Linked DNA regions of Homo sapiens: all the other regions are linked to region 1. Evidence: promoter capture Hi-C in 16 types of primary human blood cells and fetal thymus (Javierre and others, 2016). All regions are on one chromosome and are shown on one strand. Each heading gives the region's core, a stretch centred on a gene start or on the middle of the fragment in contact. The rest is flanking DNA. Distances are from core to core; before and after follow the strand shown.

Region 1 (3,869 bases), core at 512-3,011:
ATATTTTTAATCTGTCAGATTTTTTGTTCTTGCTATTCTGAGAAAAGTCACTGAAAAGAAATCATTTATCATTCTTTTTACACACAAAATAATGCAGTTTTTAAATTAATGAGATAGGCCATTTATATAAAATTTGAAAGAGTAAAGTTTTTATTCATAATTAAAATATATGTTATTCTGGAAAACAAAAAAAAAGTAGTGGTCTGTCTTCATTTGTAAAATTTCCTTTGAACTGATGGGAACTTATCTCACAGATGAGATTTGTGGGCCATTGTGAATACTCTACAGATTATGTACCCCACAGCTTTGAGCTGCCAGGTACTATAGCAGAGTGCTTCCTCAGACTCTTGAGCCAGTCTGTCTGGGTGAAATTTTTAGCTCCCCATATACTAACTATGTGATCTCAGGCAAGACAGCTTATTTATGCCACAACTGAGACCACAGTAAGGATAATAATAGTATCTACCTTGTGGATTATATGAGGACTGAATGAATTAACACACATAATGTTCTTAGAATAGCGGCTGGCACATGGTGAATAAATGTTAGCTCTTATTATAATATGTGGTAAACTGAGGAACTATCACTAGTTTTACTTGGATGAAGTACTGCATGAAATTTTTGTATTTTTATTGAGTTTCATCAATTTTTTTACTGAACCTAGTATGCTTTCTCGTCTGAACACACAAGGAAGAAAAGAAGGATGGCTCCTGTACGTGAAAGTGACCCCTGCATATAGTGCCTGAAATCAGAGGAAGCTTGTCAGTGTGGGCAGACACCACGAGCAGACCAATTTGACATTGTGCTTCTCTTTTAACCTCTTGAAAATTAATGAAAGTTATCTGATGAAGATCCTTACATTAATTGCTCCCGATTAAGGTTTAAAACCTTGGTTTACTGTGGGGTAAATTTATGTTTTTGATAGTCATCCAAAATCTTTGTACGCTTTCAGTTTCATTACAGAATAAAAAACAAATTTACCACAATGGATTATTACATTACATCTGGTATTTATTCCTCCCAAGAAGCTATCTGCTTCGGAAAAGCCAGGGGCGCCCTTCATTAATATATCTAACTGATGGTGTAATGACATAAAATTCCTTGTTGACCCCTGCTATTCAGTGTTATTGTCTTGGAACATAGAACTTGATAATCTCTTTTCACTGCATAACTACAAATGTTAGGCTGTAAGAGTATTTTACTTTGTTCAGTGCAGGTTCCAGACATTTCTCCTGATCACCAGAAGTTCTTTTGATTAATAAGGCTACTGGTCACGAAAACTCAGCTTACTAAAAGAGATCCAGTCTTCTGGTTCTAACTAAAACATCCCACCGGATGCAGGTGTACTTGCAAATTAAAGTTTGCCTCATGTGTCCTGTGTCTCAAGTCATACAGACGGCCCAGGAGGGTGGAGCCCCTGCAACCTGCCTAGCGGGGCGTTTGCGTGTCTGGGGGTGTCGGGACACGCGCAGGACACACACAGTCCCACTTTCCTAGTCTCGCACTTACCTCAAGGCTGTCAACTTTTACGCTCCTCCCTGCGCGCACAGCCCCCACCTCACGCTGCCACCCCTCACGCCCCGCCTTCAAAGTAGGAGGCACCATTGTCATTGGACACTGCTTCTCTCACTCCTATTCCAGAACCAATCACTCGAGTTCTAGTGGGGAGCGCCTAAGCCAATGGAAATGCTCGCTGCGGCAGCTGCCGGGTCCTGGGCGCTGGGAGGCGGTGCCGGGGGCGGGGTGCGGCTGGGGCGAATTAGTTGCCATTCGGAGTGAGGAGTGGGTAGAAGCGGCGGCGGCGGCGGCGGCGTTTGCGGTGGCGCGGACTCCGAGGAGCGCCAGCACCTCGAGGCCCTTTCTCTCTACCCTGGTCCCCAGAAGCAGGGGTCCCGGCCCTCCTTGCAGCTGCCGGGTTCTCCCGTGCGTGCAGCCCTGCGAGGGCTGAGGAGAAGGCTGCGAGCGGCCCTCGGGGCTGCGTGATCCGGGCCGTTGCCCTGTCAGCACGATGCCTGGAGCGGTGGCGGCGGCGGCTCCGGGCTCCTTGCGGCCCCGGCCGTGACCGCCACACCGAGCCCAGCCGGGCGGTTGCGGCCGTTGGACGTTTGTTTTCGCAGCCTTCCCCTCCCCCCTCGCCGAGGCGGCGGGGGTGTGCGTTGGGGAGGGGGAGCCCCGAGACTCCTCCCCCACAGCGATACCCCCGCCCCTCCCCCTTACACACTCGCACGCACTATCGCGCCGGCTCCCACACGCTCGCGCGCCTCCCGCCCCGCGCCTCCGTGTCGGCCGGCGGCGTCCAGGGCCCGCAGAGCCACCATGTCCACTGCCTCCTCCTCCTCCTCCTCCAGTTCCTCTCAGACCCCTCATCCCCCGTCGCAGAGGATGAGGCGCAGCGCCGCGGGGTCCCCGCCCGCCGTCGCCGCCGCCGGGAGCGGGAACGGTGCGGGCGGCGGCGGCGGCGTGGGCTGCGCCCCGGCTGCGGGAGCCGGCCGGCTGCTGCAGCCCATCCGCGCCACGGTGCCCTACCAGCTCTTGCGGGGCAGCCAGCACAGTCCCACGCGTCCGCCCGTCGCCGCTGCCGCCGCCTCGCTGGGCAGCCTCCCGGGGCCCGGCGCGGCCCGCGGCCCCAGCCCGTCCAGCCCGACGCCGCCGGCGGCCGCAGCCCCGGCCGAGCAGGCGCCGCGGGCCAAGGGCCGCCCGAGACGGTCCCCAGAGAGCCACCGGAGGAGCAGCTCACCTGAGAGACGGAGCCCCGGCTCGCCCGTGTGCAGAGGTAGCGAGCCCAACCCTCCCGTCCTCCCGGGCTGCGTCTCCCCGACGGTGCCCTCCGTGGAAACTTCAGCCTCTTCGGGCTTCTCTTTGCTAGTGCATTATCGAAGGTGTGAAAGTGGCTTTGGGAATCTCACCCCCCTGCGGTCGCTGTGGGGCTTGGAGGAGCGAACTGAAAAGCGACTTTTATTTGACCCTCATGCCGCCCCTCAGAGTCTCTCTTCCATCACTCGCCTGCTTCGAGAGGTTTTTCAGTTTAAGAGCTGGCTAGCTCATTCGTGTGTTTGCCGTTTGTAGCCGGGGAAGGAGAAGCTGGGCGAAACACTTAACACGCACACAAACTCTTCAGCAGCGGATAAGGTGGCGGTTGTAATCTCTACCGTCTCTTTGTGCTTTTCTGCAAAGTTCCTAACGTGCCTGTAACTACCGGGATAGTATTTTATTTTTTAGAGGGTTGGTGGCATTAGTTTCGATGTAAGGATATCGGCTGGATGTAATGATATCTGCTAGAGGGGACAGTTTTGAATGTACAATTGAAGTGTATACGGTTTTTTCCCTCAGTCCTCCCTCTCTCCCTCTCCCCCAGCCCCCCGCCACCCCGCCTCTCTCTCTCCCTCTCTTTCTCCCCCTCCCCTTTATATATTCATGCATCAGAGCACTCCTGCACTGGAAACAGTTTGTGCTCTACCGGAGATTTTCATGGTAAATTTCTGAAAACTTATTTGTGGAACGTGTTCGTTTTTTTCCTTCCATTTTTAAGTACACTTAACAGTTCAGTTGAGCTGTTCAAGGATCTCAAGTTTCTTTTTTTGTTAGGTGTCAAAGGTAATGGTGAGCTGGTGGATGCTGTGGGTTTCCCTTAGTGTTTTCTGTTTTGCTTTGGTTTTGTTTATGTCTAGGGACACAGTGCATGATTTAGTTGAGCCCTGGGGGAGAAAAGGAAGATTAGCCAAAACAGGGACTTAAAGCTCATAAGGGAGAGTGGAATAGCTAATATTGTTAGATACCGAACTAGAGCTACAGATGCTGCTGCTGCATTGTGGAGGGAACAGATCATACTGGGTGGAAAAATCTCTGCTTGGAAGGGAAACACTGTCAAA
Region 2 (3,869 bases), core at 1,370-3,869, 370 kb before region 1:
ATTAAATATCTTATACCTGGTGGCTGGAATTATTCCAGCTCTTTACCTAACTTGAAAATGATACTGTGGCACAATTTTCAATTAAAATCATTTTGGGTATTTGGCACACAGGTGTAATGAATAAAGAACTGGTTAGAGTGTCAGAATGTCTGTTTTAATTCTAACTCTGTGACATGCAGTCTGTGACACTGAGAGTTACTTGCACCTTCCTCTGGACTGGAGATCCTTTCTAGTGCAGACATTTTATAATTCTATTCTGTATCGTGTTCATTTAAGTAGTCTGCTTTATCATTACATTAACATTTATGAAAGACTTGCTGGTATCATTGGCTTAGCGATTATTTTTCCATCTAGATGCTTTTTTTAAAGAAATGAAGAGAATATGTAATGTTTTAAATGTACATTTTAGTTTTGATTTAAATTTTAATCAAGGATTTTTATTTTATACATTACATACTGATCACTGTTTTATGTTAACTCTGGTCCTAATAAACAGAAAATAACAATTTGGAATATCTACAACAATGAGAGCTCGAGGTAAAATATAGCATAAATAAGACATATATGTGTATGAACTGAGATATATAGAAATAATTAAATGTAACACATCTTTTGGACCATAAGCCTCAGGAAGCTATAAGGATTATTTGCATTCTTACACCTGGGCACTCTTCCTTTTTGCTGAATACCAGTTTTTCAATCTTTTCTATTTTTGAAATAGGTAAGAAAAGAAAATAATTTTCTAGAATTTGAAGAAAAATCTTAAAACATTTGAAATTCTTTGTTATGATGACTAATATAACGAATAGCACTCAGGTTTATCAAATATTAACATTTTTCCATATTTGTTATAGAATTTTTTTCCATATTTGCTACAGAAATAATTTCTTTATATATATAATACATATTTGAACACTGATTTTACTTGATACATTAATATAATGCTGATGTGCTGAGATGAATAAATCAAAGAACCTCTTGGAGCTCTTGGTGTGCAATAAGCATAGTTAACGAATATAAAATAAGTGATATTTTCTAGAAAATAAATACTGGTCTACAATGCCTTATCTGTCATTTCAAAGTCTCTAAAAAGATCTGAAAATCCAATGCCTTTTAAAAATAAAATTACGGTAATCTCATTTGACCACAAAACCTGTTCAGAATTGATGTGAGGCTATTAAGATATTTATTTCTCTTATTTATTAGTGAATATTCATCTTTCACTACAGAAATACTAACGAGTTTGATTACAGGGTGCTTTAGACTTCCCTCAAGGTGTACATATTTGCTACTTTTTTCTAAAATCCCAAACATCCTGGATTCTGAAACACATCTAAACCCCCAACATGAATTAGGACTATTATATAAGGAAAGAATTAGGAATTTTGAAAGTGGGAAATATTACTTCTATCTGAAGGATATCTGGAAAGCTTTAGGAGGAAGTTACCATTTAAGCCAGTCCTTTAAAGTTTGGTAGATTTAATATATGAAGATTGCAGGGAAGCCGTCCAGGTTGCAGACCAAGTGTAAAAAACATGAACTAGGGTGAAGAGATTGGTAAGTATTATGATAAGTACAGGGGGTGTTTGGGAAGAGCAAGTGTATTGTTGTGAAAGGACCTAGGAAGTGAACTGATAAGAAACAGTAGGAAAATTAGGGAGAGCCTGAATATGATCTTTAAAGGCATTGCTGAGCTAAGTTAGAGAATAATCACTCTTTATAATAGCAAAGACATAAAATCAACTTCAATGCCCATCAGTGGTGGACTGGATAAAGAAATGTGGTACATACACAGCATAGAATACTATGCAGCCATGTCTTTTGCAGCAGCATGGATAGAGCTGGAGGCCATTATCCTAAGCAAACTAACACAGGAACAGAAAACCAAATACCACATGTTATAAGTAGGAGCTAAACATTGAGAACATATGGTCATAAAGAAGGAATAACAGACACCAGGGCTTACTGGAGGGTGCTAGGTGGGAGGAGGATCGAAAAACTACCTGTCGGGTACTATGTTTATTACCTGGATGATGAAATAATCCGTACACCAAAACCCCCATGACACGCAATTTACCTGTATAACAAACCTGCACATGTACCCCTGAAACTAAAGTAAAAGTTTAAAAAAAAGAAAAAGAAGCAAATTATTTTTTTTTGGCATGTGAAATCAGAAAAGTCCATTTCCAAAGTAAAACAGGATCTAATAGAAATCAAGTGCTGGATAATTGGATAAAGAGTCAAGACCCATCAGTGTGCTGTATTCAGGAAACCCGTCTCACGTGCAGAGACACACATAGGCTCAAAATAAAGGGATGGAGGAAGATCTACCAAGCAAATGGAAAACAAAAAAAGGCAGGCGTTGCAATCCTGATCTCAGATAAAACAGAGTTTAAACCAACAAAGATCAAAAGAGACAAGGCCATTACATAATGGTAAAGGGATCAGTTCAACACGAAGAACTAACTATCCTAAATATATATGCACCCAATACAGGAGCACCCAGATTCATAAAGCAAGTCCTTAGTGACCTACAAAGAGACTTAGACTCCCACACAATAATAATGGGAGACTTTAACACCCCACTGTCAACATTAGACAGATCAACGAGGCAGAAAGTGAACAAGGATATCCAGGAATTGAACTCCGCTCTGCACCAAGCGGACCTAATAGACATCTACAGAACTCTCCACCCCAAATCAACAGCATATACATTCTTTTCAGCACCACACCACACCTTTTCCAAAATTGACCACATAGTTGGAAGTAAAGCACTCCTCAGCAAATGTAAAAGAACAGAAATTATAACAAACTGTCTCTCAGACCACAGTGCAATCAAACTAGAACTCAGGATTAAGACATTCACTCCAAACCGCTCAACTACATGGAAACTGAACAACGTGCTCCTGAATGACTACTGGGTACATAACGAAATGAAGGCAGAAATAAAGATGTTCTTTGAAACCAACGAGAACAAAGACACAACATACCAGAATCTCTGGGACACATTCAAAGCAGTGTTTAGAGGGAAATTTATAGCACTAAATGCCCACGAGAGTAAGCAGGAAAGATCTAAAATTGACACCCTAACATCACAATTGAAAGAACTAGAGAAGCAAGAGCAAACACATTGAAAAGCTAGCAAAAGGCAAGAAATAACTAAGATCAGAGCAGAACTGAAGGAAATAGAGACACAAAAGACCCTTCAAAAAATCAATGAATCCAGGAGCTGGTTTTTTTTTTGAAAAGATCAACAAAATTGATAGACTGCTAGCAAGACTAATAAAGAAGAAAAGAGAGAAAAATCAAATAGACGCAATAAAAAATGACAAAGGGGATATCACCACCGATCCCACAGAAATACAAACTACCATCAGAGAATACCATAAACACCTCTATGCAAATAAACTAGAAAATCTAGAAGAAATGGATAAATTCCTGGACACATACACCCTCCCAAGACTAAACCAGGAAGAAGTTGAATCTCTGAATAGACCAATAACAGGATCTGAAATTGAGGCAATCCTTAATAGCTTACCAACCAAAAAAAGTCCAGGACCAGATGGATTCACAGCCGAACTCTACCAGAGGTACAAGGAGGAGCTGGTACCATTCCTTCTGAAACTATTCCAATCAATAGAAAAAGAGGGAATCCTCCCCAACTCATTTTATGAGGCCAGCATCATCCTGATACCAAAGACTGGCAGAGACACAACAAAAAAAGAGAATTTTAGGCCAATATCCTTGATGAACATTGATGCAAAAATCCTCAATAAAATACTGGCAAACCAAATCCAGCAACACATCAAAAAGCTTATCCACCATGATCAAGTGGGCTTCATCCCTGGGATGCAAGGCTGGTTCAACAT
Region 3 (3,869 bases), core at 1,026-3,525, 350 kb before region 1:
CAATAGTGACCAATGAAGTTGCCAAATTATTTCCTTCAGACAAAAAGTCAAAGGATAGAGTTAGGCATTTTTGAAAGGTCAGAATTTATCCAGAAAGGGGGAAGTTAGAGGAAGGAGATTTACAAATGATACTGAGATACAGCAAAATAAAGTTTTTCTTATATTTCAGCAGGCAGATGTGAGAATGAAGTGAAAAGAACATCATCATTTAGATGTCGGGATGATGTGGGCTGCATTTCTAAAACAGATGGCAGATAATGTGGGTCTCCATAGTCCTACAAAAAAGTGACAGATTGTAGTTTTGGTAAAATGATACATCAAGGAAAATGAATGGTACTTGGAATAGGTATTTTAGCATCTCTTTCTGCTCCTGGGACCAAGTTCCTCAAGTTCTCAATATTACTGAGCTTAAACTCCTTCCTCATCTATGTTCATCTTCCAGCATGGCTTTCTCCTATTTCCTCATTGTTTCCTCTCTCTTCCCCTGTTGAATTTCAAATTCAAATATAAACAGTTGGTTTTGGTTTTATCTGCCTCTGAATTAAGACACTACCTTTACTACATTGTATTGGTCACCCAATTGAAGTGCATGTGCATTTTCTTCAGAGCTGAGACGCATTGATTATACAACAAAATGGAGCTATCATAGGTCCTCAATCCAGCTGCTCTGTCCTATACTTGATTAATATTCTTTCCACAATCTGTTGGTAGTGGTATTGTGACTTTTCATTTCTGTCTTTGTGAAATTTTAAGAAGAAGCTAACAAAGGCTGCTTTGAGGACTGCTAAGTAGAGGACATTTTTACCTAACATTGATTAATGTAGATAGCTGAGACTTACTTGTATTTTGAAAAATGGGAAGAAAATGGTCATGGTAAGAAGCACTGGGTGATAAGAAAAACACATAGTAACAAGATTTCTACATGTGAGCCAATAGCAAACTTCCTCTATGTGTTAAAATTCTCCAATGAGAAATACAGCAACTCGTTTCAGACACCATGAGATGGACAGGTTAGGCCAAGTTGTGCTTGACCTAGTGGTGAATGACCACACACTTCTTTACCTTTGGCACAAGTGGTTCATCAATCTCCCACTTTCCCTCAGATCCTTTTTCAGCGTAGTATTCTAGGCACCAACTGCCAACTGGCCAGTGTTCACCTGTTTGTCATTTTCAGCTTAACTACCAATTTGGACAATTGGAGAGGTATTCGAACCGGATGGTAAAGCTGAAATTAGATCTCAAGTCTCTTCACTGAAGTCTAGTACTCTTATATTTCATAGACAATGAACTGGACCAGATGAATTCTTCTGTTAGTATGATGTATATCATATGAACTTCCAATAATTTTAAAGCTAACTTTTTATTATAAAAATGATACAGGCTCATGGTAAAGTCACTGTGGGAAACAGTATGGTGTTTCTTCAAAAAATTAAAAATAAAATTACCAGGCAGATGTGGTGGCTCACACCTGTAATCCCAGCACTTGGAGAGGCCATGGTGGGAGGATTGCTTGAGCCTAGGAGTTCAAGACCAGCCTGGGCAACACAGCGAGGTCCCAACTCTACAAAAACAAATTCCAAAAATTAGTTGGGCATGGTGGAGCATACCTGTAGTCTCGGCTGAAGCAGAAGGATCACTTGAGCCCAGGAGTTCAAGGCTTCAACAAGCCATGCTTGTGCCAATGCACTCCAGCCTGCGTGATAGAGTGAGACCCTGTCTCAAAAAAAAAGAAAAAAAAAGAAAGAAAAAGGAATTACCATATGATCCAGCAATTGCACTTCTGGGTATATACTTAAAATAATTGAAAGCAATCTTTTGAAATGGTCTCAAAGAGTTATTTGTGTACCAATATTTATAGCAGCATTATTCACGATAGTTAAAATGTGAAAGCAACTCAAGTGTCCTGGACAGATGAATAAGGAAAATGTGGTATACATATTCAAAGCAATATTATTCAGCCTTATAAAGAAAGGAGCTGGATATGGTGGCTCACGCCTGAAATCCCGACACTTTGGGTGGCTGAGGTAGGAGGATTGCTTGAGGCTGGGAGTTCAAGAAGAGCCTGGGCAACATGGTGAGATCCCATGTCTACACAAAATACAAAACTGGGCCAGACATGGTGGCACATGCCTGTAGTCTTAGCTACTCGGGAGGCTGAGGTGGAAGGATTGCTTGAACCTGAGAGGTGAAAGCTGCAGTGAGCTATGATCACACCACTGCAATACAGCCTGAGTGACAGATTAAGACCCTGACAAAAAAAAAAAAGGAAATTCTGATATGCTGAAACATGAATAAATTTTGAGGATATTATGCTAAGCAAAATAATCTAACCAAAAAGACAAATACTTTATGATTCCACCTGTATAAGGTACTTAGATTGGTCAAAATCATAGAAAGAGAAAATAGAAAGGTGGTAGCCAGAGACTAGAGGGGAGGGAATGGGGAGTTACTGTTTAATGGATACTGAGTTTCAGTTTTACACAATGAAATGAGTTTTGGAGATGGATGGTGGTGATAGTTGCACATAATTATGAATGTATTTAATATCATTGAATTGTATGCTTAAAAAAGGTTAAGTTGGTAAATTTTATATTATACGTATTTTGCCACAATAAAAAATTGGGAAAAAATGCAGGCTTATCACAAGAAAAAAAAATTACATAAAGTATAAAGTGGAAGTAAATATCTTCTTAGCAGTTTGCCCCATTATCTTCCTGCTCTATGTGTCACCTCCCTAAACGCCAACTCTCACTTTCTAGGAAAAGCTGCTTTAAAGTCTGTACACATGTAAGGAAATGTTCTTTACATAAACCACATCTGGCTGTGTTTGTCTGCGTTCATCTTTGCCTCTCTCTCTTTGCCTGGATAAGATCATACTGCATAAACTCTCCTCTAATGGTTTTTTCCTATCTAAAATATGTATTTTGAAGAGTTTCCCTTATTAGCCTATATATATCTAATTTTTAAAAACTGACTGAATGGTGTGTGATTAGATGTCTATATCTCCCATTGATAGAAATGTAGGGTATTTCCATTCGTTTTTACAAATGATACTGCAGTGAGCATCTTTGAGTATAAATCTTTGGGTACTTGTGAGTGAGTTAATTTCTCAGATAAATTAGGTGGAATTATGAGCCAAAAGTTATGTGTATTTTACATTTTGATAGATATTGACAAATAGCCCTCCAAAAGTTGAACTAATTATCTCCCTATAAACTAAACAGCATAGGAAAGTGCCTGTTTTCCCAACACCTTCAACGCTAAGCATTATAAAATTTCTACTTATAGCCATGTAGTAGATGAAAATATTGAAAATATTTTAATTTACATATATTCAATTCTGAATGAGGTTAAACATAGATTTTATATGACTATTCACTGTTTGTATTTATTTACAATGCACTGCTTGTTCATTTCCATGCTCAATTTTAATGGTGTTTACTTTGAGGAAAAAAAAACACCTATATGGAAAAGCCCTGAATTATATGTAATTCCCTCTTTCTACACCTTTTCTGCTATAATTTGAAAGTTAGCTTTGGTCAGTTTTTTCACTGTCACTGTTTCTTTCCTCCCTCTCCTCCCTCTCCTCCCTTCCTCCCTTCCTCCTTTCCTTTCTTCCTTCCTTCCTTGACAGGGTCTTGCTATATTGCCCAGGCTGGAGTGCAGTGGCTATTCACAGGTGTGATCCTAGTGCACTACAGCTTTGAACTCCTGTCTCAGCCTCCTTAGCCGCTGGGAGTACAGGTGCATGCCACTGCACCCAGTGCCTTGTTTCTTTTATGATAATCATTTCTCTTTCAATGTTTAACCAGATTCTCCACACCTTGACAGCAATTAGGGTGAGGAGGACTAATAGTACTGCCAAAGGC
Region 4 (3,869 bases), core at 501-3,000, 330 kb after region 1:
TTATCCTCTCATTTAACTCCTACTCTTGCGTCAACCTCTGTGCTAGACAGGACAGATCCAGAAATAAAAGCACACCCCTGAACTACTGAGTTCTCTGGCTTCGAACCCAGGGAACTGACAACACATCAGCTGGGATTTGAGCTCCCTTTTTGTAAATATAGACAGAGGCAGGGTAAATCTCAATCTTCATTTTGTTTGTCATAATTTCTTGGTTTCCCTTTGATGGTGGTGAGGTCCTTACCCCTGCTTTCTGAATCCTAGTTCTCTTGTCTCCCACAACTCTAATTTTTTATACATAAATGAATACATAAGCAAGTGTACTTTTATGAAATGCATACTATTTCCCTCTCACATTTAAATTCTCAATTTGTGATGTGTAGAATCTTAATATTTCCTTTAGTGCAGAGTGACCGGCACCTCCAGTTTAATCCTTCTCCAAAATGGTTAACTCAGAATTCTCACCATTCCCAGTCTCGGTCTCCACCATGGTGCTTTAATTCTCTTTTTTTCAATACTATTTAAAAGTATCATCATTGGCCGGGTGTGGTGGCTCACGCCTGCAATCCCAGCACTTTGGGAGGCCGAGGCAGGCAGCCACCTGAGGTCAGGAGTTTGAGACCAGCCTGGCCAACATGGTGAAACCCCATCTCTGTTAAAAGTAAATAAATAAATAAATAAAAATACAAAAATTAGCCGGGCGTGGTGGCACACACCTGTAATCTCAGCTACTTAGCAGGCTGAGCCAAGAGAATTGCTTGAACCTGGGAGGCAGAGGTTGCAATGAGTAGAGATTGTGCCACTCACTCCAGACTGGGCGAAAGAGTGAGACTCCGTCTCAAAAAAAAAAAAAAATTATCATCATTATTATCTTGTCTGTTCCTGGTTCTTTCCTTACTATGTAAGAGAAGCAACCCAAGTCGCAGTGCATTTAAATGCTTTTCCTAAGGCTCTAGTAAGGGCAGTTAGAAATGGAAGCCGGAACTTTAGATGGTCTGGAGCGTGGTCTGGAGTCTTTACAACACACCCAAACTATCCGCACACATGGAAGGGTGAGAACCTCCCTATCCAATTCCTTTGCATCAGCTCCTCCTTCCTTTATTGTCTATGGCTTCTGGGACGATTGTGAATAAGAGAGTGATCCAACAACAGAATGTGGAGACAACCTCTCTCCCCTCTGTAGCTGTGTCCACTTTGGCTTTTGATACAGGGAGTAGAGTCACAGACAGGCATGTATTCACTTTAGTTTCCCTAGGAACGCAGACAGGTGGTTCAGACAGAAATCAGAATTATTTATACATGACTGTAGGAAAATATTTATTCAGGGAACTCTGACCATTTTATGCTTGAATCATTTATATTCTCTACTATTTAGAGCTGCAGTTGGCCTTGCTATCATTTATTTATTTGTACATTGAGTCAGTGAAGATAAATTTTCTTAATTTTTTTTTCCTTTTTTTTTATTTTATTTATTTATTTATTTTTATTATTATACTTTAAGTTTTAGGGTACATGTGCACATTGTGCAGGTTAGTTACATATGTATACATGTGCCATGCTGGTGCGCTGCACCCACTAACTCGTCATCTAGCATTAGGTATATCTCCCAATGCTATCCCTCCCCCCTCCCCCAACCCCACAACAGTCCCCAGAGTGTGATGTTCCCCTTCCTGTGTCCATGTGATCTCATTGTTCAATTCCCACCTATGAGTGAGAATATGCGGTGTTTGGTTTTTTGTTCTTGCGATAGTTTACTGAGAATGATGGTTTCCAATTTCATCCATGTCCCTACAAAGGACATGAACTCATCATTTTTTATGGCTGCATAGTATTCCATGGTATATATGTGCCACATTTTCTTAATCCAGTCTATCATTGTTGGACATTTGGGTTGGTTCCAAGTCTTTGCTATTGTGAATAATGCCGCAGTAAACATACATGTGCATGTGTCTTTATAGCAGCATGATTTATAGTCCTTTGGGTATATACCCAGTAATGGGATGGCTGGGTCAAAAGGTATTTCTAGTTCTAGATCCATGAGGAATCGCCACACTGACTTCCACAATGGTTGAACTAGTTTACAGTCCCACCAACAGTGTAAAAGTTGTTCATATTTCTCCACATCCTCTCCAGCACCTGTTGTTTCCTGACTTTTTAATGATTGCCATTCTAACTGGTATGAGATGGTATCTCATTGTGGTTTTGATTTGCATTTTTCTGATGGCCAGTGATGGTGAGCATTTTTTCATGTGTTTTTTGGCTGCATAAATGTCTTCTTTTGAGAAGTGTCTGTTCATGTCCTTTGCCCACTTTTTGATGGGGTTGTTTGTTTTTTTCTTGTAAATTTGGGTTCACTGTAGATTCTGGATATTAGCCCTTTGTCAGATGAGTAGGTTGCGAAAATTTTCTCCCATTTTGTAGGTTGCCTGTTCACTCTGATGGTAGTTTCTTTTGCTGTGCAGAAGCTCTTTAGTTTAATTAGATCCCATTTGTCAATTTTGGCTTTGGTTGCCATTGCTTTTGGTGTTTTAGACATGAAGTCCTTGCCCATGCCTATGTCCTGAATGGTAATGCCTAGGTTTTCTTCTAGGGTTTTTATGGTTTTAGGTCTAACATTTAAGTCTTTAATCCATCTTGAATTGATTTTTGTATAAGGTGTAAGGAAGGGATCCAGTTTCAGCTTTCTACATATGGCTAGCCAGTTTTCCCAGCACCATTTATTAAATAGGGAATCCTTTCCCCATTGCTTGTTTTTCTCAGGTTTGTCAAAGATCAGATAGTTGTAGATATGCGGCGTTACTTCTGAGGGCTCTGTTCTGTTCCATTGATCTATATCTCTGTTTTGGTACCAGTACCATGCTGTTTTGGTTACTGTAGCCTTGTAGTATAGTTTGAAGTCGGGTAGTGTGATGCCTCCAGCTTTGTTCTTTTGGCTTAGGATTGACTTGGTGATGCGGGCTCTTTTTTGGTTCCATATAAACTTTAAAGTAGTTTTTTCCAATTCTGTGAAGAAAGGCATAGGTAGCTTGATGGGGATGGCATTGAATCTGTAAATTACCTTGGGCAGTATGGCCATTTTCACGATATTGATTCTTCCTACCCATGAGCATGGAATGTTCTTCCATTTGTTTGTATCCTCTTTTATTTCCTTGAGCAGCGGTTTGTAGTTCTCCTTGAAGAGGTCCTTCACATCCCTTGTAAGTTGGATTCGTAGGTATTTTTTTCTCTTTGAAGCAATTGTGAATGGGAGTTCACTCATGATTTGGCTCTCTGTTTGTCTGTTGTTGGTGTGTAGGAATGCTTGTGATTTTTGCACATTGATTTTGTATCCTGAGACTTTGCTGAAGTTGCTTATCAGCTTAAGGAGATTTTGGGCTGAGACAGTGGGGTTTTCTAGATATACAATCATGTCATCTGCAAACAGGGACAATTTGACTTCCTCTTTTCCTAATTGAATACCCTTTATTTCCTTCTCCTGCCTAATTGCCCTGGCCAGAACTTCCAACACTATGTTGAATAGGAGTGGTGCGAGAGGGCATCCCTGTCTTGTGCCAGTTTTCAAAGGGAATGCTTCCAGTTTTTGCCCATTCAGTATGATATTGGCTGTGGGTTTGTCATAGATAGCTCTTATTATTTTGAAATATGTCCCATCAATACCTAATTTATTGAGAGTTTTTAGCATGAAAGGTTGTTGAATTTTGTCAAAGGCCTTCTCTGCCTCTATTGAGATAATCATGTAGTTTTTGTCTTTGGCTCTGTTTATATGCTGGATTACATTTATTGATTTGCGTATATTGAACCAGCCTTGCATCCCAGGGATGAAGCCCACTTGATCATGGTGGATAAGCTTTTTGATGTGCTGCTGGATTCGG
Region 5 (3,869 bases), core at 867-3,366, 310 kb after region 1:
TGCCTCAGCCTCCCGAGTAGCTGGGACTACAGGTGCCCGCCACCACGCCTGGCTAATTTTTCGTATTTTTAGTAGAGAACGGGGTTTCACCGTGTTAGCCAGATGGTCTCCATCTCCTGACCTCATGATCCACCCGTCTCAGCCTCCCAAAGTGCTGGGATTACAGGCGTGAGCCACCTCTCCCAGTCCTAATATTTTCCATAAAAATTAACAAATGTGCAGTTAGAAATTTTTGTATTTTTCTGTATATTTACATTTTTTATGGTTATCATTGTGTTTGCCAGTTCAACAGATTAGCTTAGATTCAGCTCGCAAAGGAAACTACCATTCCAAAAGCTGTCCTTACAATTTAGGTACATTTCCATCAGGTGGCAGTAGTGTCTTTGTCCTGGTTGAAAGCAGGAGATCTCAGCCCTGCCAGCTATCAAAGTTTTTCTTGGCTGGGCTTTATCCCCAGATATTTTGATTCAATAGGTGTGGAGTGGGACTGTATGTAGCATCTATAAGTTTATAAAGATCAGCATGTGATTCTGATGCCCTGTTGTTAACCACGGTGAGTTTGATATTTCTGGTTAGGCCTTCTGCTATATCTACCAGATTTAGTCATAGACGTTCTACTTTTTAATGTCAAAAATAATCTCTTCATCATGTAAAGCAGAAACAATTTTAGAATAGTTTTTAAAAGTCTTTAAATTCACATAGGTCCCATTTCTTATTTCTACTACTGTTTAATATTTAATCCTACAATTTTTATTTAAAATGTATCTTAATATATACTCAAACCTCCCCAATGACTATGACCACGACTTGCCTTTTTAAAAAGTCAGAGAATATATGATTCCCTCATGGGCGTGAAGCTCTCTCCTTAGGGCAGAGGTTCTTAAACTTCAGTGTGGGCAAGTAGACCTGAGAGGTTCATTAACAATGTGCATTCTATCTTGAACTAATGGATCAATTCTTGGAGTGAGGCCAATAATTGCACATTGTAAGCCATCTCCCCAGGTTATTCTGATACACACCATATTTTGAGAACCACTAACTCTGGCACTGAGAGGCTGGAGCAGCCTGGGTAAGGTAGAGAATACAGAGAGAGGGCTCACAGAGTCCAGGTGCAGATCTGTAAGAAACTGTGTTCCCTTCTTCCTGTGCTTCATCTTTGTGTAAATGGTGATAAGTGTGCTCTTATTCAGGCCATATCTGGCTCAGTAACCCTGAGGAGTTACCAAGTATTGGTTGGTAAGTTTGCAGCAGAAACCTGCCAACTTATGTTGCCAATCTTAGCATGGAACCTGGGACACGCAGTAACTATTTATTGGTTTACACTGAGGCTATCCTCCTCTTCCTCCTCTGTTACCTTTTCTTTCCTCAACGTAACCTCTTCCATCTATTGTCTTTTCTCCCTGTTGTGTTGGTTTGTGATCCACTCTTGAAGAAACACCCATGTAGATCAGATTTAGACACTAAAAAGAAGAAAATATTTTTCTGAAATCCTATCAATAACAGTGAAATCACCCATTCATATTTAAGTTGCAAGAATAGCATGTTTGTTAATTATCTTGGGTTAAGTTTTTTACTATTATGTACAATTGTATTTGGTCTTCTTTAGTTTCATGACTATGCTTTTATTTTGAGCAGTTTACTTTCATTTACTAGCATCTTAATATATACAGCCTGAGTTGTCATCTGCCTTTGATTTCAGATAAACTGTGTTCCTTCTGCAAAATATGCAGCAAATGATTTTCTACTAAAATTTGTTAGGTTGGTAGGAACACATGATAAGCTTGGATCACTGGATTTTCATTTTTGATATTTTATGTCCTAAACACACTTGCAAGTTATTTATCAATGTTTATGTTAAATCAACATCTAATAAGTATTGCCTCAGCATTACTTGAAACCTACAAAATCTTAACAGTAGACTTTAAAACAAAAATGTAGATCATGATAGAAGCTGGCAACTTGATTAATCTCTTTCTAAAGCCTTTACTTAAAACTATAATTATATATGCAGTTCTCTGTCCACTCCCCTGCACCCCACCATAAACAAGTTATATTCCTTATTGTGATTTTGAAAGGAGGACTAACTACAAATGGCTAGATTAACACTATTTATATAAGAGCTTTAATCTTGTCTGAGCCATCGCCACCTTTTTGTAGGCACTATGACTTCTCACTTAAGTTATGGCAATTGTCCTTCCTCCTGGAAGGACCCTCCTAATCTATTATCTAACCTAAACCAAGGGTACATCTTTCTAACGTACAAACTTAATTGTACTGAATAAAGACTTTCTTTGGCTTCAAACCTTCTGGTGGTTCCCTATGAGGTGGTTATCTATTGCTCTGGCCACCTGGATCTTCTTTCTTTACTGATGGAAATAAAATGAGAGTTTAAAATTTAATATTAGAGGACACATGTGCCGGTCCTTCCTGGGGAGGAGAAGCTATAAAAGGAGAAGCTTGGGAGCTGTCAGTGGCCATGTTTTTCACCATGTGCAGGAACCTGGTCAGTAGTGAGAAAGGATTAAACCAACCCATGGGGAAGATCAGAGATTAGAGGTAGGGAATACATATATATATATATACACACACACACATATATATGTATATATATGTGTATAAATATACACACACATATATATGTATATATATGCACACGTATATGTATATATACACACATATATATGTATATATGCACACACACATATATACACATCTATATACATATATGTATATATACACATCTATATGCATATATGTATATATATACACATCTATATACATATATGTATATATATATACACATCATATATATGTATCATATATACATATATGATATATATACATCATATATATGTGTGTATATATATGTGTGTGTGTGTATATATATACACACACACATATATATATATGATGGAATTTCTCTCTTGTTGCCCAGGCTGGAGTGCAGTGGTGCAATCTTGGCTCACTGCAACCACTGCCTCCCAGGTTCAAGCAATTCTCCTGCCTCAGCCTCCCGAATAGCTGGGATTACAGGCCTCTGTCACCATGCCTGGCTAATTTTTTGTATTTTTAGTAGAGATGCGGTTTCGCCATGTTGGCCAGGCTGGTCTTGAACCCCTGACCTCAGGGATCCATCCACCTTGGCCTCCCTAAGTTCTGGGATTACAGGCATGAGCCACTGCACCAGGCCCAGAGATAGGGAATATTCTGCAGGTGGTATTAGAAGCTCTCATTCATGTGGTTCTGTCCTTCCAGAAGTTGGTTTTCCAACCCTTCCTCGGATCACGTGAGATACCCCAATACAGTCTTATGAAGAACCCCTTTTATCTAAGCCAGATAGAAATAGATTTCTGCCACTGCAAATAAAAAGGTGTTCCTTAGAATATAGCTTGTAAGGGCCTTCATGAGATGGAACTGCCTTATCAATTGAGTCTTTATAAAACCCTCAGGAATGTGCTTAGCTGAAAGTAATAGAACACATGACAAGTAGACTTAAATAATAAAAGCATCCTGTTTTCTGACATATCAAGAAGTGTTGACAAAGACAGTTCCAGGGTTGGTTTATCAGCTCAACTAAATGACAGTGACTTAGTCAGCTCTTTGCAATTCTTTGGATCTTTTCCTTGATCACAAGATGGTTGTAGGAGCTCCAAATTGTCTTTAAGACCTAGGTGAGCATTGCAGACAGGGAAGAAGAGGGCAAAAGCTTTCTCCTATCAAGGGTCTGGTTTTAGCCTCGAAGGAAGCCCTGGTGGACTTATCCTTAGATCTCATTGGCCAGAAATGGCTCACATGTCCAACTCTAGACTCATGACTGTGAAGTGAAAATTACCTTGATTAATTTCCTAGCTGTCCCTAAATCAAGGGAT
Region 6 (3,869 bases), core at 848-3,347, 310 kb before region 1:
ATCATCAGCAGAGGCTGCAGAACAGCAAAGATTGTTGCCCGTTCCTTCCTCTGGAAGCTTTGTCCCAGAGGGGCACCCACCAGATGCCAGCCAGAGCTCTCCTCTATGAGGTGTCTGTCGGCCCCTGCTGGGAGGTGTCTCCCAGTCAGGAGACATGGGTGTCAGGGACCCACTTGAGGAGGCAGTCTGACCCTTAGCAGAGTTTGAATGCTGTGCTGGGAGATGTACTGCTTTCTTCAGAGCTGGCAGGCAGGGACGTTTAATTCTGCTGAAGCTGCACCCACAGCTGCCCCTTCCCCCGAGGTGCTCTGTCCCTGGGAGATGGGAGTTTTGTTTATAAGCCCCTGACTGGGGCTGCTGCCTTTCTTTCAGAGATGCCCTACACAGAGAGGAGGAATCTAGAGAGGCAGTCTGGCTACAGCGGCTTTGCTGAGCTGTGGAGGGCTGTGCCCAGTTGGATCTTTCCCGGCATCTTTGTTTACACTGTGAGGGGAAAACGGCCCACTCAAGCCTCAGTAATGGCAGATGCCCTTCCCCCCACCAAGCTCGAGTGTCCCAGGTCAGCTTCAGGTTGCTGTGCTGGCAGCGATAATTTCAAGCCAGTGGATCTTAGCTTGCTGAGCTCCATGGGGTTGGGATCCACTGAGCTAGACCACTTGGCTCCCTGGCTTCAGCCCCCTTTCCAGGGCAGTGAATGGTTCTGTTTTGCTGGCGTTCTAGGGGCCAGTGGGGTATGAAAAAAGAAAACACTCCTGCAGCTAGCTCGATGTCTGCCTAAATGGCCGCCCAGTTTTGTGCTTAAAACCCAGGTCCGTGGTGGCATAGGCACCGGCGGGAATCTCCTGGTCTGTGGGTTGCGAAGACCGTGGGAAAAGCGTAGTATCCGGACCGGAGTGCACTGTTCCTCACCGCACAGTCCCTCAAGGCTTCCCTTGGCTAGGGGAGGGAGTTTCCCAACCCCTTATGCCTCCTGGGTGAGGCGACACCCCACCCTGTTTCTGTTCGCCCTCCTTGGGCTGCACCCACTGTCTAACCAGTCCCAATGAGATGAGCCGGGTACCTCAGTTGGAAATTCAGAAATCTCCCGCCTTCTGTGTTGATCTCACTGGGAACTGCAGATGGAGCTGTTGCTATTCGGCCATCTTGCCAGCAACCCCTCTTCATGTATTTTTAAAATGGTTAATGGTGAGTGTTAAAATGTTGTGGTGTTTAGATTTTGTTGAATAAATTTAAAAGAAAGATATAATGATTTTGTTTCAACATGTAAATATTTATAGTATGCTAGAAACTATGTCCTTTATAATTTTCAATGGAAAGTTTTAGATGTGAAATTAAAAAGTACATAATTTTCTCAAAAAAATTTAAAGAAGTGTGTGAGTGCTTTGAAAAAGCCTTTTTTGCCTGTAGCCCAAACTAGAAAATAGATTTCTTATTATAACCCAGCACAGGCACCCAAATGCGAAAGTTTATAAAGCATTAGTTACCATGTATAATGCTCTCAATCTTTTTGCCTTCTTTCCCTCTTCCCCTACTTTTTTTTTCTTCCTATTTCATTCCATTAAAAAAAAAAAGTCTGGTCTTGACCTGCTAAATTGTTTACTTCCACTCAAGGGTTGGAACTTGCAGTTTGAAGCAAACACCTAAATCTAAGATAGTTTTTTCTTTCTTTGTTTTTCTTTCATTTTTTAAAAGTCTGAGCATAAATAAGAGAGGTGGAAGTAAAATTTATGTTAATCAATTTAATTAATTAGTTTCCAAGCTGTTCTGTGGAGCTGAAAAGTGACATCAGTTTAAATGTCTTCTCTTGCTTATCCTCTCAGGCATCTGTACCTCTTCCCCATTACACCAATATCAAAAACTACAAAATAAAAAACCTAGGTGGGACGGAAAAACAGGGGGAGAGTCTTTATGTAATACTAATTAGTAGTCTAACTGATACTAAAGGATAAATTTTAAAAGAGGATTAAATCAGGTCTCTACTATGAATCTAAAATCTGTTAAATACTGAACTTGTTAATTAAGGAGAGAACTAGTGAGATACTGCAACTGGTTCAAAAGAGAACTCAAAGCCTCATCACACACTGATAGGCAAATAAGGAATGTAAAATTTATAAATGGATGCAAAATTGGTTAGTATCCCCGGGGCAATAACGAATGCATTTTACCAGAAGCATTTTTATGGATAGGAATTACATGCATGACTATCAGTTTTATACAACTGATCTCCTATTCCTACAGATTTATAAAATAGCCTAGTCAAAACAAGCAAAGGTGGGAATAACCTGAATGGGTGAGCTAGCCAGGAAATCTACTGAATTCTAAAGTATTAAACAATTTTTCCTTCTACTGATTAGATTTAGGCTATTAATTCCTAACCTAGGTCTAAAACACTTTGCCACCTGAAGGCCAAGTCCAGTTTTAGAGGATTTCTACCATCTGCACAGTATTTGTAAACATCGTGAATTTCTTGCTATTATTTAAAACCTAGATTTTTACATAATAGCTGGATTTCCAGTTTGTCTTGGAAAATCAGATTGAAATGGAATTTACTATTATTTTCTTCTCTTAAGATAAAGTCCCCTACTTTTCCTTTTCTTATTCATAATACCACTTTTCCATATCATTTCTGTACATCCCTTCTTTTCTCATTCAAACTTCACCCATCTTAATCCAGTCCCGTTTCAGTACAACTGTCTTAACTTCTTGGCTCCAGGCTCTTCTCAGTCTCTCTAGCATGCTATTTTACATTTAATCTCTCTTAAATACTTTGCTCAAGACTCCAGACTGCCCAGTAATGTCCAACAAATCCTGTTTTGCCACTCTGAATATGCTGACACTTTCCTGACGCTTACAACTCTTCAGTAATTTATTTCTTCCCTTCTTTTGCAGTCTTGATTTCTGTTGCTTATCTACATGGTTCCTTCCTCTAGTGAGGTTAATCTCTTTGCTTTCCTCTATACCCACTATGCTTTTTGTTCATGTTGATCCTTCCTACAGGAAAGGCCTTCCTTCTCTTCTTTGTTTATACACATCAGATGAAGTTAAACTCAAGGCTACCTAGTCTGCGCAGCCTACCAGAGTTCTAATTCACATTGATCTTTCTGGAATGTTTTATGCTTTCTAGCGTTGTTTTAGGTTGTGTATTCTTATCACTCAAGATTAAAGCTACCAAAAGCATGGCCTACCTTCCTCTGTACTGTATTGGTATCTCTGAGGAGAAATTAGTAAACTTGTTGTCTAAATTTTTATATTTGCATAATCATGCATTTCACTGTACAAAAGGAGGAAGGTTAAACATCGTTCAGGATTTTAATTTTTCAGCACTGTGAAATTTACATATTTATTGTATTTGGAATAAAATGTGTGTGGGTGATATATAGATATATATATATACACACACACACACATTCATACACATGTATTTACATTATTCTGTCTATAGACAGTAGCTGCATCAATCACACAGGAATTTTAGTCTATTTGATATATTTACATTAACTAGTAGTCTGTTGAAATTCAAAGGAGATAATCAAATTGAGAAAACCATGTTGCCTAATCCTTTTGTCATGGATAATATTACTTAAAAGGGAAGCCTTGGAGTAATAGGAAAAAAGAAATATATTCTAGTGCTCTCCTACCTCTATTCTGAACAATAGGATCTGCCCTGCTAAGCAATTAGGCAGGCCCTTTTATACGCAGTCTGTGTATACCATTAAAAGTCAATACAGTGTCCTTTTATTTTCTAGTTTTGTGTGATGCATGCAGAAAAGAAACATTTTGCTTTTTATATAAAGACTGTCCCTGTAACACAAAGTGGGTTAAGAGATTTGAGACAATTTTCCCAATAATTGTGAACTAAAACTTACATG
Region 7 (3,869 bases), core at 663-3,162, 290 kb after region 1:
ATGGTGAATTTTGTGCTACACCAAAAATCATGGCAGTAATAACAAAGAGGTAGGTATTTGCAAACCACAAACCTAAAAGAAATCTAGAAAGATAAAAATATAAAGTGTAAAACAACACTAGAAACAGAACAAATGGGTTACCTCTGCTAAAGAAAAAAGTAATTTTAAAAGTTTGCAGTATAAATTATATTCACCTTTGATTTTATTTAGTTTGGTTTACATAAATTTCAAATATCAAATCAAATTTCACATACAGATTTTACTCTGTATTTATGGTGGTGTTTTCTCTAAAAGCTTAATTTCAAAAGCTGAAGAATGAAGGAACACCCTAATCAGATAAAAGTCTCGATCAAGTTCTGTGAAGGAATACTACGCCCTTCGATGTCAGCACAGAACATTATTAAATCATAGGTCTAAATGTTATCCTTATATTTTATTGGGATCAAATTATAAAACTTGGAAGGCTCTTACAAATCTTACTTTAAAGAATTGCACCAACTTAAATTTTCTTTTTATGGAAGAATAACCTCAGATAAATTGACTTTATCATCTAAGACTATGCAGTCCAATATAGCAGACACTAGCCACATGTAATATGAGCACTTGAGATACGGCTGGTATGAATTCAGATGAGCTCTAAATGTAAAATTCACACTGGATTTTGAAGACTTAGTAACAAAAAATTAAAATGTCTCATTAATAAATCCATGTATTTATAGTTATAAAAATTATTTCATGTTGATATATTGTATATATCTAAATTTTATATAACTACATTTATATATTACATATTTACATATGTATATTATATATTCTGCTTTATATTTAATTATATTTTTTGCTTATTTATTACTTTTTTATATTTTACGTTGAAACAATATTTTGAATATTTTGGGTTAGATCAAATAAATTATCAATTTAATTTAAGCTGTTTCTTTTTAGTTTTTGTTTGTTTTGAGACAGGGTCTTACTGTGTTGCCCAGGCTGGTCTTGAACTCCTAGGCTCAAACAATCCTCCCACCTCAGCCTCCTGAGTAGCTGGAATTATAAGCATGGCACACGCCACAGCCCCCACCTTATTTCTTTTTAGTTTTTAAGCCAAAAATATTTTACTACTAGAATGTTTTAAATTATATATGTGGCTGCTGTTATATTTTTGTTGGAGAGCCTCAGTCTAAGGCATCAAACAAATCAAAAAAGAGCTAGAAATTAATTCTATAACTTCGGTCACCAATATTCTGTACTAGTTACAAATACCCTTAAACAGTTATTTCTGCTCAGAATCTCTGACATTCTGTCAGAGATGTCATTACAAAAATAAAATCATATGTATCTTCTTTTGAAATAACCTACAAAATGATTGTACTCCATATTTTTACAAGTTTAAAAAGGTCCAAATCTGTGTGCACAATGTACTATTTGTGTCAAATTAGATTTATGTGAATAGTAAGTGAAGTGGTGGGCTACTATAAGACCATCAGAAGTAAAAATGTAAGGACAATGTGATGTAATATATACAATATGTATCCACAAATGTAAAATGTATACATATATTTAGAAATCACAAATATATATAGCTGACCCTTAAAGAAAATGGGTTTGGACTGCATAGGTCCACCTATACACCAGTTTTTTTCAACCAAAGGCAAATAGAAAATATATCTTCTATTTTTTTATAATCATATTTTTATATTTAAGTACATTTTTTGCTTATAATTAAATATAAAGAGAGAAACCTGGCATGAGAAACCTGTGTATATGGAAAGTCAACTTTTCATATACATACATGGGTTCTGCAGGGCTCTGCAGGACTTGAGCATGTGTGGATTTTCATAGCTGAGGGTGGTCCTAGAACCAATCCCCTGTGTATACAGAGGGATGACTTTAATTCATATGTACATAGAAACGTATGAATGGTTAATAATAACAGTGTGAAGGAAGAACCAAGAGTATGAATGTGGGGACTATAATTATATGAAATTGCACGTAAGCATAATATCAGCCATCAGAATAATCAGGGAGATGCTAATGTTTATAAGGTTCTCTTCCTTTAAGATTAAATTCATAATTTGAAGCCTCCAAAAGATGTGATCAAGCAATTTGTTATGACTCCACAGAACCTCCTGGCTGAGAGTGAGGAGAGAATTTACACATCATTTAGTCCAACCTCCTCTTTTCACTGAAGGAACTGAGGGAAATTTGGGGAAATTTCCCAAGTCACAGAGTAAAATTTGTCTCATTAGTCTTAAATTACTGAACTATGCAGACACCAATATGTGGTTTATAAAATGTGTATGCTGTGCACGGGTCCTGTAAACAAACCACCACAGCTCCTTTATCTGGAAATGGCACATATTCCAGAACTTTCCTTGGTTAAGCTGTGGCAGGTAAATCATGTTTGAGTTTGGGCTGGCTTAGGAGCAGGGAATGCAGGCAGTCCAGGCAGGGGAAGGGAGGAGCAAGAAAGGATCTCAGAGGTCAGCAGCAAAGGGAAGCAGGCAGCAGAAGAAAGCACTATATGATCATGTATGCTCAGCTAACAGCACCACACTTGCGTCTGCTGGGTCATCTAGTTGGCGTTATTTGAGAACTAATAAAGATCCCTTTTTCAGGTTCTCTCTACTTTCTCAGGAAATAAACAGCAGCAAAGCCCAGAGCTTATAAAGCACAAGACTGGTTATTTTGATGGGGGTCAGGAAAGACAGGGATATTGGGCATGTACCCTCTAGGGCAGACCAGGTAGAAAACCCAGAAAGTTGCTTGAAGGTACTGAGTTCCAGGTTAGGAGTGCAGAGAAGAGAGAAACAGGAAGCAGAAAGTGGGGAGTGGCTTAGCACAAACACAACACAATGTTTACATACTTCACAATGATGCCAATGCTGCAAATGGCAACACTGAGTCAACAGCATTAGGCACCAGGACACTTAGCTCCTGGCCTTCAGGGAGCAGTGGGAAGAAAACCCTGCAGGGTGGTGACAGGCAGTCTCCCTCTTCACGCACTCTGGGGAACCATGGCCTTGGCACTGCGCTGGGCACCTTCTGTCACAGTTTCCACTCTCTGTGCACCCCTGCTCACTTCTTTGGAGCTATCCAGAATCATGACCACAACCTGCTGTTCGCTTCCTTCTCCCTAGGAAGGACAGCTCCTACACTCTTACCCCTGCCCACCTTAGTCCATCTTTCTGTCTCTTCTCTTTCATGTTAATCAACCTCCCTTGGCTTCTACCATCAGGCCTCATTCTTCAAACTCTTTCTCAGTTCCCATCCTCTTCCTTCTCTTCACAGTCAAGAGTTCTAAGCCCATGCTCTCTGGTTCCTTTCTCCACCAGCCCAGAGAACATCTTTCACTATGGGCCCCACTCAAGTCCTCATTTCTCATGACTTTTGACCACGTTCTCTTCCTTTCTTGAAATGCTCCTCTTCCTCTACTTTTCAGGAAATATTCTCCACACTTTTCTATCTTTTCAATTTTCTTTGCTAGCTTCTTTTCCTCTGTGTCTGCATCTCAAATATCAGTATCTGTAAGGTTCCAAGCTTGGAACTTTACTTGCTCTCATTAGGTGATTTCTCATTAGGTGAGGCCACTTCCATGGCTTCAACTGCCAGCTGTATGCCAACAACTTCCAAAATCACACACCTCTCCAGGGCACCAGATCCACATTTCCACCTCCAGATGGTAATCTTCACCTGGATTGTTCCACAGGCACTTCAAATTCAGCACATCTAAAACTAAACTCCTCTTTCCATCTGCACTCTCAAATTCTTCTTTCTGTGGTCCCTATGTTAATTACCAGCACTAAATGTACTGAATGGCCTAAGTTGAAAACCTCACTTCTTTCTCTTTTTTTTTTTTTTTGGCAGGGTCTTGC

What was found. Contacts are between HindIII fragments. The CHiCAGO score rates a contact against its expected background, and 5 or more counts as called.
Region 2: a contact is called between a fragment that was not itself captured here and the fragment with the promoter of GLCCI1 in region 1, in 4 of 17 cell types (erythroblasts, naive B cells, total B cells and 1 more). The highest score is 7.6, in erythroblasts.
Region 3: a fragment that was not itself captured here is called in contact with the fragment with the promoter of GLCCI1 in region 1 in 9 of 17 cell types (activated CD4 T cells, naive B cells, total B cells and 6 more); the score reaches 10.6 in activated CD4 T cells.
Region 4: a contact is called between a fragment that was not itself captured here and the fragment with the promoter of GLCCI1 in region 1, in 4 of 17 cell types (megakaryocytes, erythroblasts, fetal thymus and 1 more). The highest score is 12.9, in megakaryocytes.
Region 5: a fragment that was not itself captured here is called in contact with the fragment with the promoter of GLCCI1 in region 1 in 3 of 17 cell types (erythroblasts, megakaryocytes and M0 macrophages); the score reaches 6.9 in erythroblasts.
Region 6: a fragment that was not itself captured here is called in contact with the fragment with the promoter of GLCCI1 in region 1 in 12 of 17 cell types (naive B cells, fetal thymus, megakaryocytes and 9 more); the score reaches 13.2 in naive B cells.
Region 7: a fragment that was not itself captured here is called in contact with the fragment with the promoter of GLCCI1 in region 1 in 3 of 17 cell types (megakaryocytes, M1 macrophages and erythroblasts); the score reaches 7.3 in megakaryocytes.

What each region holds. Positions count from the first base shown.
Region 1 is chr7:7,967,035-7,970,903 of GRCh38, forward strand. It overlaps GLCCI1 (glucocorticoid induced 1), which reads left to right and starts at 1,762. Exons shown (of 8, transcript NM_138426.4): 1 at 1,762-2,773. The coding sequence starts at 2,317. GLCCI1-DT (GLCCI1 divergent transcript) reads right to left here and starts at 1,718. Exons shown (of 5, transcript NR_110018.1): 1 at 1,510-1,718. RefSeq lists silencers at 1,585-1,734, 1,945-2,344, 2,425-2,484, 2,575-2,654 and an enhancer at 3,135-3,224. The HindIII fragment of the contact is 4,760 bases long and covers 757-3,869 here.
Region 2 is chr7:7,598,051-7,601,919 of GRCh38, forward strand. All of the region lies in intron 11 of MIOS (meiosis regulator for oocyte development), which reads left to right. Among named protein-coding and RNA genes, the nearest start is that of MIOS, 33 kb to the left of the region's middle. The HindIII fragment of the contact is 2,383 bases long and covers 1,429-3,811 here.
Region 3 is chr7:7,614,956-7,618,824 of GRCh38, forward strand. No RefSeq gene overlaps it. Among named protein-coding and RNA genes, the nearest start is that of UMAD1, 24 kb to the right of the region's middle. The HindIII fragment of the contact is 5,558 bases long and covers 1-3,869 here.
Region 4 is chr7:8,296,641-8,300,509 of GRCh38, forward strand. All of the region lies in intron 3 of ICA1-AS1 (ICA1 antisense RNA 1), which reads left to right. Among named protein-coding and RNA genes, the nearest start is that of ICA1-AS1, 36 kb to the left of the region's middle. The HindIII fragment of the contact is 4,184 bases long and covers 1-3,842 here.
Region 5 is chr7:8,277,212-8,281,080 of GRCh38, forward strand. The region is part of intron 3 of ICA1-AS1 (ICA1 antisense RNA 1); the gene reads left to right. Among named protein-coding and RNA genes, the nearest start is that of ICA1-AS1, 17 kb to the left of the region's middle. The HindIII fragment of the contact is 676 bases long and covers 1,779-2,454 here.
Region 6 is chr7:7,661,623-7,665,491 of GRCh38, forward strand. The region is part of intron 4 of RPA3 (replication protein A3); the gene reads right to left. All of the region lies in intron 1 of UMAD1 (UBAP1-MVB12-associated (UMA) domain containing 1), which reads left to right. Among named protein-coding and RNA genes, the nearest start is that of UMAD1, 23 kb to the left of the region's middle. The HindIII fragment of the contact is 4,085 bases long and covers 56-3,869 here.
Region 7 is chr7:8,251,939-8,255,807 of GRCh38, forward strand. All of the region lies in intron 1 of ICA1 (islet cell autoantigen 1), which reads right to left. Among named protein-coding and RNA genes, the nearest start is that of ICA1, 8.3 kb to the right of the region's middle. The HindIII fragment of the contact is 3,240 bases long and covers 293-3,532 here.